Linked DNA regions of Homo sapiens: all the other regions are linked to region 1. The links are contacts of gene promoters, found by promoter capture Hi-C in blood cells and fetal thymus (Javierre and others, 2016). All regions are on one chromosome and are shown on one strand. The core of a region is centred on a gene start or on the middle of the fragment in contact, and the rest is flanking DNA. Distances in the headings are between cores, read along the strand shown.

Region 1 (3,412 bases), core at 331-2,830:
TCCTCCTCGCCAGGGTGTCTCGGCGCTCCCGACCCTCCAACTTTGGAAAAAGAGCGACACCGAAGTCCCAAATCACCCCAGATCAGGGACAGAGACGAGATGGGGATCCACGACGGTACGGTTATGCTACAGATTTCTAAAGACCAAAACAAAAAGGGGTTGGCGGGTGTAGACGGACGGGAAAGAGACAGGAATAACCCTCAGCCCACGCAGGGCACCTCATCTGTGCAGACGCGACACATCCAAACCCAACACATCACCAAAGCCAGCGCCTTCCCGGCTCCACTTAATCGTTAATGCCTCGCCGCTCCCCAAGCTCCGTTCCGCTCAGCAGACTACGGATGTCTGGGACACTCTTCCCCCATCCCCACCTCACAAACACACACCCGTCTCCTCAAAAGAAACAAGAAAGCAGAGGGAAAACCCCGTCCGCCTAAAGGTCATTCGCCTGCTCGGGTCGCTTTGGCCAGCGAGCGCCCCGGCTATAGGAGGACGGGGCTCGAACCCGGTGAGCGGCCGTCAGGAGCGCAGCAGATTTCTTCAGCGTGCGTTAATGGGGAACCAAGAGGCCCCATTCCTTGGTCCCGGCCGCCTCTCCCTCCCTCGGTGGGCCGCCCGCCGGGGTTCCCCGGGGCACCTTCAGCCTTTACCTCTCTGCCCCCTTCCCCGCGGCTCTCCACCTTGCGCATCCTCTCGCCGGGCCCCGGAGCGCACGCAGAGGCTCTAACTTCCCGCAGAGTCCGTGGAGAAGCAGGAGAGCCTGGAACTGGGGCGGGGCGGGGGAGGGTGAGAAGAGGGAGGCGCGGGAGCCCAGCCTGGGAAGCGGGAGGCGGGCGGAGCGCGCACTGGAGCCACCCCTCCCGGGAGGGCCTGGCCGCGGCTGCCGACTCTCACCTGGTCCGCCGGCTGCGCCTGGCTCGCCCTGGCCCCCGGGGTGGGCTGCGGCTCCTGCTTCGCGGCCGTCATCGCCGGCGGCCCGCGCTGGCGCTCGCTTCCTCGCGGGCGCTTCAGACTCGGGGACCGTCACTTGGCAGCGTTCGCAGGTCACGGGCGCCCGTCGCTCCCGGAATCGGCGGAAGGGACGGGGTGGGGGGAGCGGAGGGGCGGGGAGGGGAAGAAGAGCGGCACCGGGCGGGCTCCCCGTCGTAGGGTCCCTCCCTCGGCCACCGCAGACCCTCTGACTCCCCGCTCTCCCCGCCCCCCGCCACCCAAAGCGCAGCGAGCCGCGGCGGCGAGGCGAGACCAAGCGGCAAGTTAGTGCAGCGGCGAGCGGCGGGGCCCCGGCCCCTGACCGAGCTGCGGCGACGCCTCGTGCCTTCTTCCCGCAGTCCGCGCCCCCCACCGCCCGCCCCCGGGGGCTCCCCGCGCGGTGCTCAGCGCGCCAGGTGGAGCAGCCGGGCGCCGCGCTCCGGCCTCTCTTCGGCAACCGCAGCCGGGGGGGGGGAGAGCCCGGAGCGGCGCGAGAGCCCCCAACCCGCGCGCCCACGGCCGCCGGCTTCCGCGGTTACCCCGCCCCCCGCAGGCTTCCGCTAAAACCCGGAGAAGCGGAGCGCGCCCGTGCGAAGCACTGGGTGGCTCCAGCTCCGCCACTGCGCGCGCTCCAGCGCCCCAGAAGGCAGGGGGCAGCCCGGGGACCGGGGTCCCGGAGCCCCGTGGGAGGCGGGCAACACCTGTCGGGACCCGAGGGCGTGTCTGAGATTGTGGCCTGAGGTGCTGCGCCTTCCGATCCGGGGCAGCGGGCGTCCTGTAGCTGCGCCTTCCGAATCCAGCCCAGATTCTCCTACCAGCTGCTTGGGTCACGTCGGTGGAACTCCTAAAGGTCGGTTAAAAACCATAAGAACTGTAATGATGATAAGACTCTGATACTCATTTCTTTTTTCTTTTTCTTTCTTCCTGGACACGTGTAGGAAAACCTTCAAATCTTAAGTCCTCCCAGCCTTTCCTTTCTTCAACACAACCCTCTCCCATTCAAAGTAGGTTTACCGAGCACCTACCACGTGCCAAACACACTGTGAGGCTCAGAGAGAGGGTCGCAGGGGAGAGAAACTAAACAACACGGCAAACCTACCAAATCCCCTGGCTGCAGGGAGCTTACGTTGTGTGGGAATTGGGAGCCCGGAGCCTGGATACAAATCAATGAGTCAATGTAGCTCTTAGGAAGTTGAATTACCGCGGATAGACAAAGTCCACAGTTCATCCAGATGCACTAGTGCACGTGGCTTTCCCTAGGGCGCCTAAAGCCTGTGGACCACAAACAGCCTCCAAGTCTCAGGCACAGGTTGTGGAAGATTGCTTACCGGAGAAATGGCAGGAGTGAGTTGAATATTTAGGTGTTCATGTATTCAGCACAAGACAGTTCCAGCAGAGAGGACAGAGAATATGGGGCAGTGGGGTGGCAGTGAGTTGGGCTTTATTGGCTAAGGACTGGCTCCCTGCTCTGAGCCACTCAGTCCATTAATTAGTCACTTCTTAACTGAAAGACTTTTGTAGAATGGTAGGAGCTGTCCTCTTGCCTTAGTAGTTTCTAAAACACGAATTATAATGTTGTCCTAAATATTAATTGTAACGATACTTCCTATAAAGTATGTATTTTAAAATAAATATATCAGTAATCACCAGCAGAAAGATAGAATTAGAGGTGAGTGGAGATCTTGTTTTTCAAAAATATGTATTCCAGTGCATATTGTGAAAGACCTATTTATTCTGTTTCAGGAGAAATAACTTTTTGCTAGGAATAACTTTGCAAGTTGCAAAAGCATAAAGCAAATATATATTTTTAATGAAACATTAGTGTAATAGCTATTGGGCAGCTTATCCAGTAATTATGACAATATAGATATTCCCTCACATGTAATTCTTTTGGAGGGAGGGCATCTGCATTATTCAGAAAATGTTCGCATTTTTATATTTTGCTCTTCTGTTGATTATTTGAGTATATTCATCCTTTCATTGTGTTTCCATTTCGGACAATCTGCTTGAGTTGAAGGAATTTACTTTATTACAGAGATATCTGTCACACAGGATAAGTACATGCTGGAGGGAGATATCCTTTTATATAAGATTACTTATTTGATTGAGTTCAACTGTTGAATTTGCATCTGTGTTCTGAATTCAGTATAAAATCCACTTCATTACAAATAAAGACAAACATTATTATATGTTTCATGTATTGTGGGGGTCTGTGTGTGTATGTGTGCGTGAATTTTTTTATTTATAAAATGCTTCTTTGATTTAAGTATTTGTCCTTGGGGATGGGTTGTTATTTTGTCAAGCTAAGAACATTTTTAGCTGTTGAGATCTGGGTTAAGGGCACTGATTAAAACTTAATCACATGTAAACGGATTTTCCCAATTTAAACACTGTTTTTATTTTTTTAATGTATTGCACTTGAATTACAGTGTAAGATGTTCTA
Region 2 (3,412 bases), core at 310-2,809, 2.6 Mb before region 1:
GTATCCTCTTTTATTTCATTGAGCAGTGGTTTGTAGTTCTCCTTGAAGAGGTCCTTCACATCCAACAAGGGGCTCAATTCTAAGAAATTTCCATAGGTATTGGTGGCTCTTATTGAGATTCACCTGCATCTTCTAATTGACCCCCACGTCCCCACATTTGCATTCTCAATGTGTCTTCCTGTCATGTACATGCCTCATTGTCCCATGCTGTAGAGGTTACCTGTGAGTCTATAGCATCAATATTATCTACACATTTTGGGCCCTCTAACCCCTGTAGTGGTTCATCTCCCTCTAGGTTCCTTAGATAAGGCATTGAAATGGAGCAAATGGTACTAAAAAGTGTACATCATTAGTTATTTTCTATTTTTGTTGTCTTCTCAGCTCAACCTAATATTAAAAAGTATTATATTTAGTGCTTCATTCCCATAGGCTTGTTTTTTGCAAATAGCTGTCTGTGAATTCGTATGCATAAGACTTCCTAGAGTAAGGATAAAGGTGGAGGCAAAGGAAGGCCTAAACTATGCATGTGGTGGTATTAGCTGACAGCATGTCCAGGTAACTGGCCATTATTGATTCCCTTTATCTTGGGTTAAACTCACTCACATAGTCACTTACCTCTGTGACTATGAAAGAAGAATGCCTCTTTATTCTTTTTTCCCTTTTCATTTGGTTTGCCTTACACCTGTGTGAAAGGAATAATTATACCTGCAAGACCTGGAGCCAGGCTATAAAAACTTGGGACAAGTTACTTAAATTTTCGTGCTTCATTTTCTTATCTATAAAATGGGGATGATGTTAGTAACTACCTCATTGGATCACTGAGAAAGTGAAATGAGTCAATATGTGTCATGTGCTTAGAACAATCCTAGTATACAGAAAATAGCTCAATAAACATTGGCAGGTATCATTAAGGTGTTTCTCTGGTTTGCTGTTTTGTGTTTGTAAAGAAAGCCTTAAGCAGGCTGAAAGTAGCTGGAGAGCTCGTCAAAGATGTGCTTTGTGGGTTCTGGGCTCGTGGTGCCACAGGGAACATATCTTATTATATTTGTTTTGTTTTTCTAGCATGCAGTATGGTGGCTGACACATGGTTGAGATTCAATAGAAAATGAATGAATGAATGAAAATGCTCTCAGTCCTGCTTAGATTCTTGGCTATAGGCATGCCTCCTTTCATACAGACATGTGAGTCACACAGTACAGCTCAGAAACCTTGGCTTGAAATTCTCCAAGGGGCGGGAGAAGAATAGAGCCTTTTGGAAGCACAGACTTTAAGCCATAAAGTACCAAGGACCCATTTTAGTAGATCACTTCTGTACAGATTTCACCATTAAGAAAACTTCACAGACTCTTGCAGTTGAGAAGTGACTCCCATGTTTTTCTACTTGAAGTAACATTAGCACTACTGATTTTTCAAGGCTAGCAAGTAGGGTCAACTGAATAATGAGCAGATTAATCAAGACTTCAGATGCTGCCTCTAGCTCATAACTTATAGACTGACAGGTTCATAATCTTTAAAATCATAATTTTCCCTAGGGTAGAGGACTTTTCTATGATAAGCTGTTCTGTTTTTTTTTTTAATATGAAGGTTCTCAAAAAAAGGATTACAATCTCTTTTCCATCAACAATGTGCACCTCAATTATTTATACCTATTCAGCTACCAAAAAGAAATGTTTTAAGGAATCATGGTAAGGGATTCTCTCCCTTTCTCTCTCTCAAATACACACAGAACTATGGACTAAACCTGCAGACCTAGCTCACCCTTTTCAGTACCTAAAGTAACTTATGGCCAAGAAGTCACCTAGAAATATGTAGTTTGCCATTAAGTCATTATGGCTCTGGGTTTAAAATTTCTAGTCCACAGTCTGCTCCTAAACAAAAGTCTGAGAAAATACATCCATCATCGCTCAAGTTCTGTACAGTATGTGCAGTCTTGAGAATTTGGATTTTTGTGACTAGAACAATATATTAAATCATATAATTTGTTTTTGCTTGTTTATTTGTTTGTTTTTTTTAGGCAGAGTCTCGCTCTGTTGCCAGGCTAGAGTGCAATGGCATGATCTCGGCTCAGTGCAACCTCTGTCTCCCGGGTTCAAGTGATTCTCCTGCCTCAGCCTCCCAAGTAGCTGGGATTACAGGCACCTGCCACCACGCCTGGCTAACGTTTGTATTTTTAGTAGAGATGGGGTTTCACGATGTTGGCCAGGCTCATCTCAAACTCCTGACCTCAGGTGATGCACCCGCCTCTGCCTCCCAAAGTGCTGGGGTTACAGGCGTGAGCCACCACGCCCAGCAAATCATATACTTTTAACAGGGCTCAGAATTGAATAAATACGTGATTTAAAAGTTCACGTGGCTCATAGTGCTTGATTAGAGATCTCCTTAGAAATGTAAATATTAAAAAGTTATCAAGAGGTCAGGTTCAATGGCTCATGCCTGTAATCTCAGCGTTTTAGGAGGCCGAGGTAGGCAGATCTCTTGAGTCCAGAATTCGAGACAAGTCTGGGCAACATGGCAAATCCCTGTCTCTACCAAAAAAAAAAAAAAAAAAAAAAAAAAAAAATTAGCCTGGTGTTGTGGTGAGCGACTGTAATCTCAGCTACTTGGGAGGCTGAGGCGGGAGGATTGCTTGAGCCCAGGATGTTGAGGCTGCAATGAGCTATGATCACACACTGCACTCCAACCTGGGTGACAGAGTGAGACCCTATCTCAAAAACAAAAAAAAAGTTATCAAGATAATACTTGTAAAAATAAAAATAAAAAGTACTGTGACATTTACAAGGGAAAAAATAAATCTCTCACTCCAGTCTTCATCACAGTGGAAACTTGCTTTAACTTTCTGCTCTTTCTTTTAAATTCTAAGTAAATATCATATTTCTAAGTAGTTCATTTATTGCTGTATCTTAAATATCTAGATTTTTTTGACTTTATATAATTATAGGACACTTTTCGTCCCTTTAATAAGTCTTCATCTTAATCCTTCTTGATAGAGTTATGTTACTATTTTTAATTATTAATTATTCATGCCCTCTTCATTGTATCCACGCAAATATTATCCTTACAGAGACATGTAGATTTTTGTCTTTCTCAGACACATTAATTGTCTTGCTTTTCATTTAAATAACTTATTATCTGCCTATTTTTAATTTTATAAGGATGTCTGTATCCTACTTCTTCAATCTCGTCTGTTTGCTCTTGGACCTGTTACCTAATGCCAACATTTTCAATAAGTTGGGGCATAATTATGTGGTTTGATAAATATCTCCTCCAATATAGTAAGAAGTGTGTTGAGGGGAGAGAGTTAGCTGTATTTCACTTATAATGAGGAAGATTATAAGGTCTTTCTCATTATATATCACAATATGTAATATGTTAATATCACTATATTATATAATTATGATACATGTAATTATAT
Region 3 (3,412 bases), core at 295-2,794, 2.6 Mb before region 1:
CAATGCTTTCATAATATCAGCAAAGGATATCAATTTGCCAATATGGCTGCCATTAGCAGGGCTTTGAAGTGCCAGGGTCAAACATATCTTATTAGAATGGATTTAACCGTCTGTTTCTATTTCTTTTTTTTTTCTTTTTTTGAGATGGAGTCTTGCTCTGCCACCCAGGCTGGAGTGCAGTGGTCTGATCTTGGCTCATGGCAACCTCCGCCTCCCGGGTTCAAGTGATTCTCCTGCCTCAGCCTCCCCAGTAGCTGGGATTACAGGCACCCACCACCACGCCTGGCTAATTTTTGTATATTTAGTAGAGACAGGGTTTCACCATGTTGGCAAGGCTGGTGTCGAGCTCCTGACCTCAGATAATCCACCCCCCTTGGCCTTCCAAAGTGCTGGGATTACAGACTGGAGCCATCTCGCCCGGCTTTAACAGTCTGTTTCTAGAGAGAACTTCTTTTATTTGACAAACTCTAAGACTGTTGGGTGAAGAGCAAAGATTTTTCCAGGTATGGTGGCCCATGCTTGTAGTTCCAGCTACTTGCGAGTCTGTGGCAGGAGGATCACTTAAAGTTGAGTGCGAAGCTGCAGTGAACTGTGATTGCGTCACTGCACTCCATCCTGGAGACAGTGAGATTCTGTCTCTAAATCATAATAATGATAATAATAGCAACAAGTTACTAGTAGATACGACTAAGAGATTCTAGAAACGTTTTCTCACTTGAGAAATTAAAATCACCATCTGCAATGCAAATCCATTTTCGTCTTGATGATAGAAAATGTCCTTACTTATATAAGTGTCACCTAGCTTCTAATATCCTGTTGGTAATCTGGAAATTAGACAGAAAAATAGGTGTTTGACCATCAAGAGAGATCATTCAAGGTCCAGAATGTAAAGCCCATGTCCTTTACTTGAGAAAGTCTCTCGAGGCCTGTTAGTGTGTGGACTTTTAATTTTCCCACACTTCTAGAAAGCCTGGGGACTTTATTTTCCCAATCTACAGAAACCACGGATGTTGAGGGTTAGTGGGTGGACAGAGCACAGATACAGGGATCTACACTGATTCAGCAAGAAGCGATTGTTGACATTAAGAAGGACACTATAAAACACACTTAAAAAAAAAGACAGCAATTTCAGAACAAAATTTAGGATTGTTGAGTACGGGAGCAGCCTTTATCTCTCAGCAGTTCTTGAGAGTGTTACTAAATGATCAGTGGTTTCCAATGGCTATTCCTGGAATCTTATGGTTCTATGTCGTCTCAGGAATTCCTAGTGGGTGGGACTCTGTTGCACACCCATCTCTCTCTTCAACTCTTCTTTGTATCTATTTTGTTGGTTGGAATTCTAGAAAAGACTTCTCAGTTAAAACAGAATTTTAAAAATCGCATTTTGGTGTATAGTTTGATTCTGTAATGAGGCTGAGTCATAAAAGATTAAATGGTCAAACTCTGTGTAAAAGGCAGAGGACGATGTAACATATTTCAGAAACACTTGCATTAAAATGCTGAAAATATAAGTTTTGGCATAGTAGACTGTAAGTAAATCTTTGTTAAATGGATGAATTATGAAATGCAGAGAGAGAAACTCAAACTGTTCAAAAGTTGCCTTGCTCCACATCACTGAATAAATAAAGTATGACTGAATATAGTGCCTTTGTTGAGTGTATAGATATGTGAGTTCAATCTTCTAAGAAAAACTCAAATAGAGACTTGACAACATGTGGCCAGACACTTGTATCAAGTGCCTTCAAGTGTCATGCTGCAATCTATAAAACAGCTTTAAGCAATACATCAAACAAGTATTTGGAATGAAAGATGATGATTCATTCTCTTGCAGATATGGAAATTGAGAATAAAATAAGTTCTAGAGGCAAGTACAGTTTATTTTGTCTGCATAATGAATATATTTAAAGAAAAGTGGTTTTGTTTTCTTGAAGCTAATTGATTTGATTGTTGTTTTATGCATTGAATGTCTATTGTCAAACATGATTCAGAGCTAAACATGGAATGTAGTTACATCTATAACTACATAACTAAATATGTATAGTTAAAATTGTAAAATATGACATGTATAAGGAAAAGTATACAAAATAGAAATGTACAGCTCAATGATTTGTTACAGGAGTTGGCATATTTTTGTGTATAAGGCTGGATGGTAAATATATTAGAATTCATGGGCTATATGGTGTCTGTTAGGACTATTCAAGTCTCCTATTGTTAATAAAAAGACAGATACAGACAATGTGTAAACTAACATGGGCTGTGGTTTAATAAAGTTTTGTTCACAATAATCGGTGGGAGATTAGGTTTGGGCCATATTGTTTGCCAATCCCTGATTTATGACAATGCAAACCCTACTGTTTCTACCATCTAGGACTGGAAATACAATATTATCAACATTGCAGAAGCATCCTCATCTTCCCTTCCAAGCACCATCACTACTCTCTTGCTCCTATACTATCTTTCATGGTAATATATTCTTTGCTTTTCTTTGTAGTTTTATCAGCTAAACATACATACCTTACACACATACATTAATGAAGTCATATGGAATGTATTTTTTTCTCAACATTCTCTTCATCAGATTCATTTCTGTCACATGAAGTGGCAACTTTTTTTTTCATTTTCATTGCTGTAAAGAATTGTGTTATGTGAACAGTTCAACATTTATTTTCCAGTTCTAATGCTGGTGGACATTTGATAATTGATTTCACATTTTGGCTTTTATGACTAATGCTCTTATAAACATTTTCGTACATGTCTCTGCATGCACATGTGCATGCATTTTTGTTGGATGTACACTTAGGAATTGCAGAGTATGCTTTGTGCTTGTATTTTAGGAGACAATACCAGTGGTTTTCCAAAGCAGTATACTAACTTTACTCCTACCTACAGTTTAAAAGAGTTCCCCTTATTCTACATCAGAGGTCAGCAAACTATGAGCAACAGTCAATTATGGAGTGCACCAGTGGACTGGGCTAGCACTGTGAACCATGCCTCACTGCTGCCTGGGGTCTGGCTGGTCAACACCTACACTCTGGGGACTCTGCTGTTGGCAGCTGCTGGCACACCAAGTGATAGAAACTATCAGCCTCTTCTTTGGCCTGCTGATCAAATTGACACAGTCTCCCCAGGAGAGAAGGGCATGTTGAGATCAAGTGTACCTGGGGCAGAGAGGGAAAGTGACCATGGTGACTGTTCCCACTTCTCCTCCCCGTCGGGACCCCTCAGACCCATTCCTCTTCCTTCAGGTAGTTTCCAGCCAACCACAACTAGGACAAAGCCTTCCCACCACCTCACTGGTCCACGTCAGTCAAATGTGGTGGAGAAAGTCAAGAGTTTCTCGTGTTATATAAGTGCCTGCCTTCATAATATCCTAAATGTTGTCTCTTGACTACGAGGCCTAAGAAAATTACTA
Region 4 (3,412 bases), core at 505-3,004, 2.6 Mb before region 1:
TGGCACAGCATTTCTTTTGCCTTTATCTATTGGTCAAGTCATCAAGGAGCCCTGATTCTAGGGGAGGGACCCTCGACCCTACCTCCTAATGACAGACATGCCAAAGAATTTTGGGGCCATGTTTTAAATCCCACACAGCAGATGGTATAAATCAGAGGTTCTCAACCCTGGTTGTATTTTAGAAGTATTTTGGAGTTAAAGACAAAATACCAGTGCCTTGTGACCACCTCGAGAGATTCTGGTTTGGTTGGGCTAGAGGGCAGCCTGAGAGACTGTATTTTATATTTTTTTTCTAGGTGATTCTGACATGCAAACAAGCCTCTGGGCCAAAGTTCCTGTGTCCAAGGATTAAAAAAAAAATGGAGCATAAGTCTGAGGCTGTGAACGAGGCTCCTCCTGCCCTCTGGAGCTTGCTGGAAGGAAACACAGCCCAAGAAGTGGACTAAAGAGTTGTTCCAACACCACTGCCTACAAGATGAACTGCTTCCAAATGATGATAGAGGAAAAACTTTCAGGTAAATGGACCTGCCATCATCACACATGCTTTTTCTCATATTACATTTTACCTGCAGTTTGTAAATATTATAAAAAATCAATAAAGCTGCCATATTGCTGTAATCTAATTTGTCTTTTCTGATTGTGTGAAGCTGGAGGACACATTTGGCATCACATTTTCGGACCTCAGAGAGTGATGTTAAACATTTATAGTGCACTTAATAATCTGTCAGAAATGTACAAAGGCATAATGTCTCATTAATAATTATTAAATCATTGAGTCACACAGAAGGAGATGTTCCCCTCTTTACTTACGTAATGACCAGCAACCGCTAAAACGTAGCTCATTTGTGATGCACAGCCAGCACATCTAATAGTGGAAATCTGCTTGAGGAAATTAATAAGAAATCGTATTCAGAGATAGGATTTTAGACAGCAAGAAAACATGCATATGGATTGCTGCAGTATTCAGCCAGGGCAAATAGATGTTCCCTTCCTGATCAGAGTCAGGTTAAAATTCAGCCAGATAATTGCTGAGAGGGAAGAGATGTGAAAGGAAATGATCTTATTTGCTTTCGGAGGCTAGATAACTCATTTCAATATGCCCAGCTTTGGGCTTTTATTCATAGGTATATGTATCAGTTTATGAATAAAAGAGATACATATTTTGATTTGGAATGAGGTTGGGATGGAAGGTGCAATTTGAATTTTTCAAGACTTGGATTTTATTTCCAATGCTGTTTGTGAGGATTTTTTTAGTTTTTATTTTATAAGAACTTTTTAATACCAGGCAATGTCATTTTAGTAACACATAACACAAGAATTGAATTACATCTGTTGCATATCCTCTCCCTCCCTCCAATATTCAGCCTAGAGAATTTAAAGTTTTAGCCTTTAAAAAATTTACAGGCTGTGCTTGTCTTTATAGCAGCTGATGTGAAATCAACTCTTAGCTTCCATTTTCAACCTTAAGCTTTCTTCATTCTGGGTAAACTCAAGGCTTCCCAATCCGTACTGGTGATAAGTGCATGATCCAATCAAGCTAGCTGGTGGCTCAAGGTTGTTGACTAAAGAGTTGTTCCAAATTGCAGGATTGTAAAGGGTGTCCCATGCAGTTAGCCTGGGCCTGGTAAGACATTCTGTGCCACCAACATTTCTGTGGTCAAACTTTTGAAGTTTTTCACACCTTTCACACTCATTACTGTGCTGGGGCTTGTCTTTGGTAAAAGTGTTAAATACACAATATTTGCCTTTGGTGCGCATCCTTCCAGTTCTAGGCCAATAAGCAGGCACCACGTTTCTTCCTGCCAGTAGCTGTCCTGCATGGTTGTTCAACAAGCCTCGCCCATAGATCTTTGAGCCACTGTGGGATGAAGTATTTGTTACTTGCTATTTGGGGGGAAAATTCTCAGAACATATTATTGGCATTACTCACTAAGGTTTTGGAGAGGAGAACCAAAAAATGCCTTTGAAAGTTTGGTAAGATTGACTTTCATATTAATTTGCCTAAAAAAGTTTGTGCCCTCCCTTGTTCAGAAAAGCTTTAAAGCACTTCTAAGGATGCATTCAGTTTTTCAAATCAACATAAATAGAAGTAGGTGGGAAACAAGAAGAAAAATTACTGGTGGAGTTTTTTTTTTTTTTTTTTTTGAGATGGAGTTTCACTCTTGTCACCCAGGCTCGAGTGCAATGGCATGATCTTGGCCCACTTCAACCTCTGTCTCCTGGGTTCAAGCGATTCTCCTGCCTCAGCCTCCCAAGTAGCTGGGATTACAGGTGCCTCCCACCATGCCCAGCTAATTTTTGTATTTTTAGTAGAGACAGGGTTTCACCATTTTGGCCAGGCTGGTCTTGAACTCCTGACCTCAGGTGATCCACCTGCCTTGGCCTCCCAAAGTGCTGGGATTACAAGCGTGAGCCACCACACCCAGCCTTTTTTTTCTTTCTTTCTTTCTCTTTTTTTTTTTTTTTTTTTTTTGAGACAGAGTCTCGCTCTGTCACCCAGGCTGGAGTGCAGTGGCGCAATCTCGGCTCACTGCAACTTCTGCCTCCTGGGTTCAAGAGATTCTTCTGCCTCAGACTCCTGAGTAGCTGGGATTACAGGTGCCTGCCACCATGCCCGGCTACTTTTTGTATTCTTATTTTTTTTTTAGTAGAGATGGGGTTTCACCATATTGGCCAAGCTGGTCTCCAACTCTTGACCTCAGGTGATCTACCCTGCCTTGGCCTTCCAAAGTGCTGGGATTACAGGCATGTGCCACTGTGCCTGGCCTGGTGGAGCTATTTTTTTAATAGCCAGGAATGAAGCCAAAACAGCAATGCAGACCATGCATACAGCCTGTCATTCTTTTTAACAGGTGGGCCTCAAATTGTTCTGTAAGTATTCTAGAAACTAAATGAAAAGAGACATTTGTTTGGTTGTACTATTTAGGGTTCATGAGATTAAAAACAAGCCCATTTTAAGGAGATGCACAATTCATTTTGATACTGTGGCAGGAACAACATTCTTTTCGGGACTCTCATGAATGAGCCCACTGTGTAAAGTAACAGCACCTTCAACCTTCTCATTGCAGACACCTGGGGTTACATTGGTGTTTCTTTTGTGTTTCCCAATGCAGGCTGATAACATCACATCATAGCCCATGCCAGTGAAAATCTTTCAACAGGAAGAGTGAAGAAGAGAGAAAAGGTCAAAAGACTGTTTTACTTCACGAATTTCTGTAGGTCTAGCTTAATTCAGGAGTGAACTTTAGAGTATCTAAATGGGAGGATGAAAAGGATAGATTTCATGCACCTTTGAAAATAATTTTTTTCCGCTAAATTGTGTTTTTGAGAAGTATTACAAGGCAGCAGCATGCTTAATGTTATGCTTCTAGGCAAATGCTTACAGTGTGTGTATCACATATGCCCAATTACA

Evidence for each region. Contacts are between HindIII fragments. The CHiCAGO score rates a contact against its expected background, and 5 or more counts as called.
Region 2: a fragment that was not itself captured here is called in contact with the fragment with the promoter of DPP10-AS1 in region 1 in 1 of 17 cell types (endothelial precursors); the score reaches 5.4 in endothelial precursors.
Region 3: a fragment that was not itself captured here is called in contact with the fragment with the promoter of DPP10-AS1 in region 1 in 3 of 17 cell types (M2 macrophages, endothelial precursors and M0 macrophages); the score reaches 9.4 in M2 macrophages.
Region 4: a contact is called between a fragment that was not itself captured here and the fragment with the promoter of DPP10-AS1 in region 1, in 2 of 17 cell types (endothelial precursors and M0 macrophages). The highest score is 11.9, in endothelial precursors.

What each region holds. Positions count from the first base shown.
Region 1 is chr2:115,159,511-115,162,922 of GRCh38, reverse strand. DPP10-AS1 (DPP10 antisense RNA 1) reads left to right here and starts at 1,580. Exons shown (of 3, transcript NR_036580.1): 1 at 1,580-1,819. All of the region lies in intron 1 of DPP10 (dipeptidyl peptidase like 10), which reads right to left. The HindIII fragment of the contact is 8,601 bases long and covers 1-3,412 here.
Region 2 is chr2:117,792,665-117,796,076 of GRCh38, reverse strand. No RefSeq gene overlaps it. Among named protein-coding and RNA genes, the nearest start is that of DDX18, 20 kb to the left of the region's middle. The HindIII fragment of the contact is 7,003 bases long and covers 1-3,412 here.
Region 3 is chr2:117,774,277-117,777,688 of GRCh38, reverse strand. No RefSeq gene overlaps it. Among named protein-coding and RNA genes, the nearest start is that of DDX18, 39 kb to the left of the region's middle. The HindIII fragment of the contact is 7,818 bases long and covers 1-3,412 here.
Region 4 is chr2:117,757,476-117,760,887 of GRCh38, reverse strand. It overlaps LOC124907878 (a long non-coding RNA gene), which reads left to right and starts at 295. Exons shown (of 2, transcript XR_007087210.1): 1 at 295-515; 2 at 3,114-3,412. The HindIII fragment of the contact is 568 bases long and covers 1,471-2,038 here.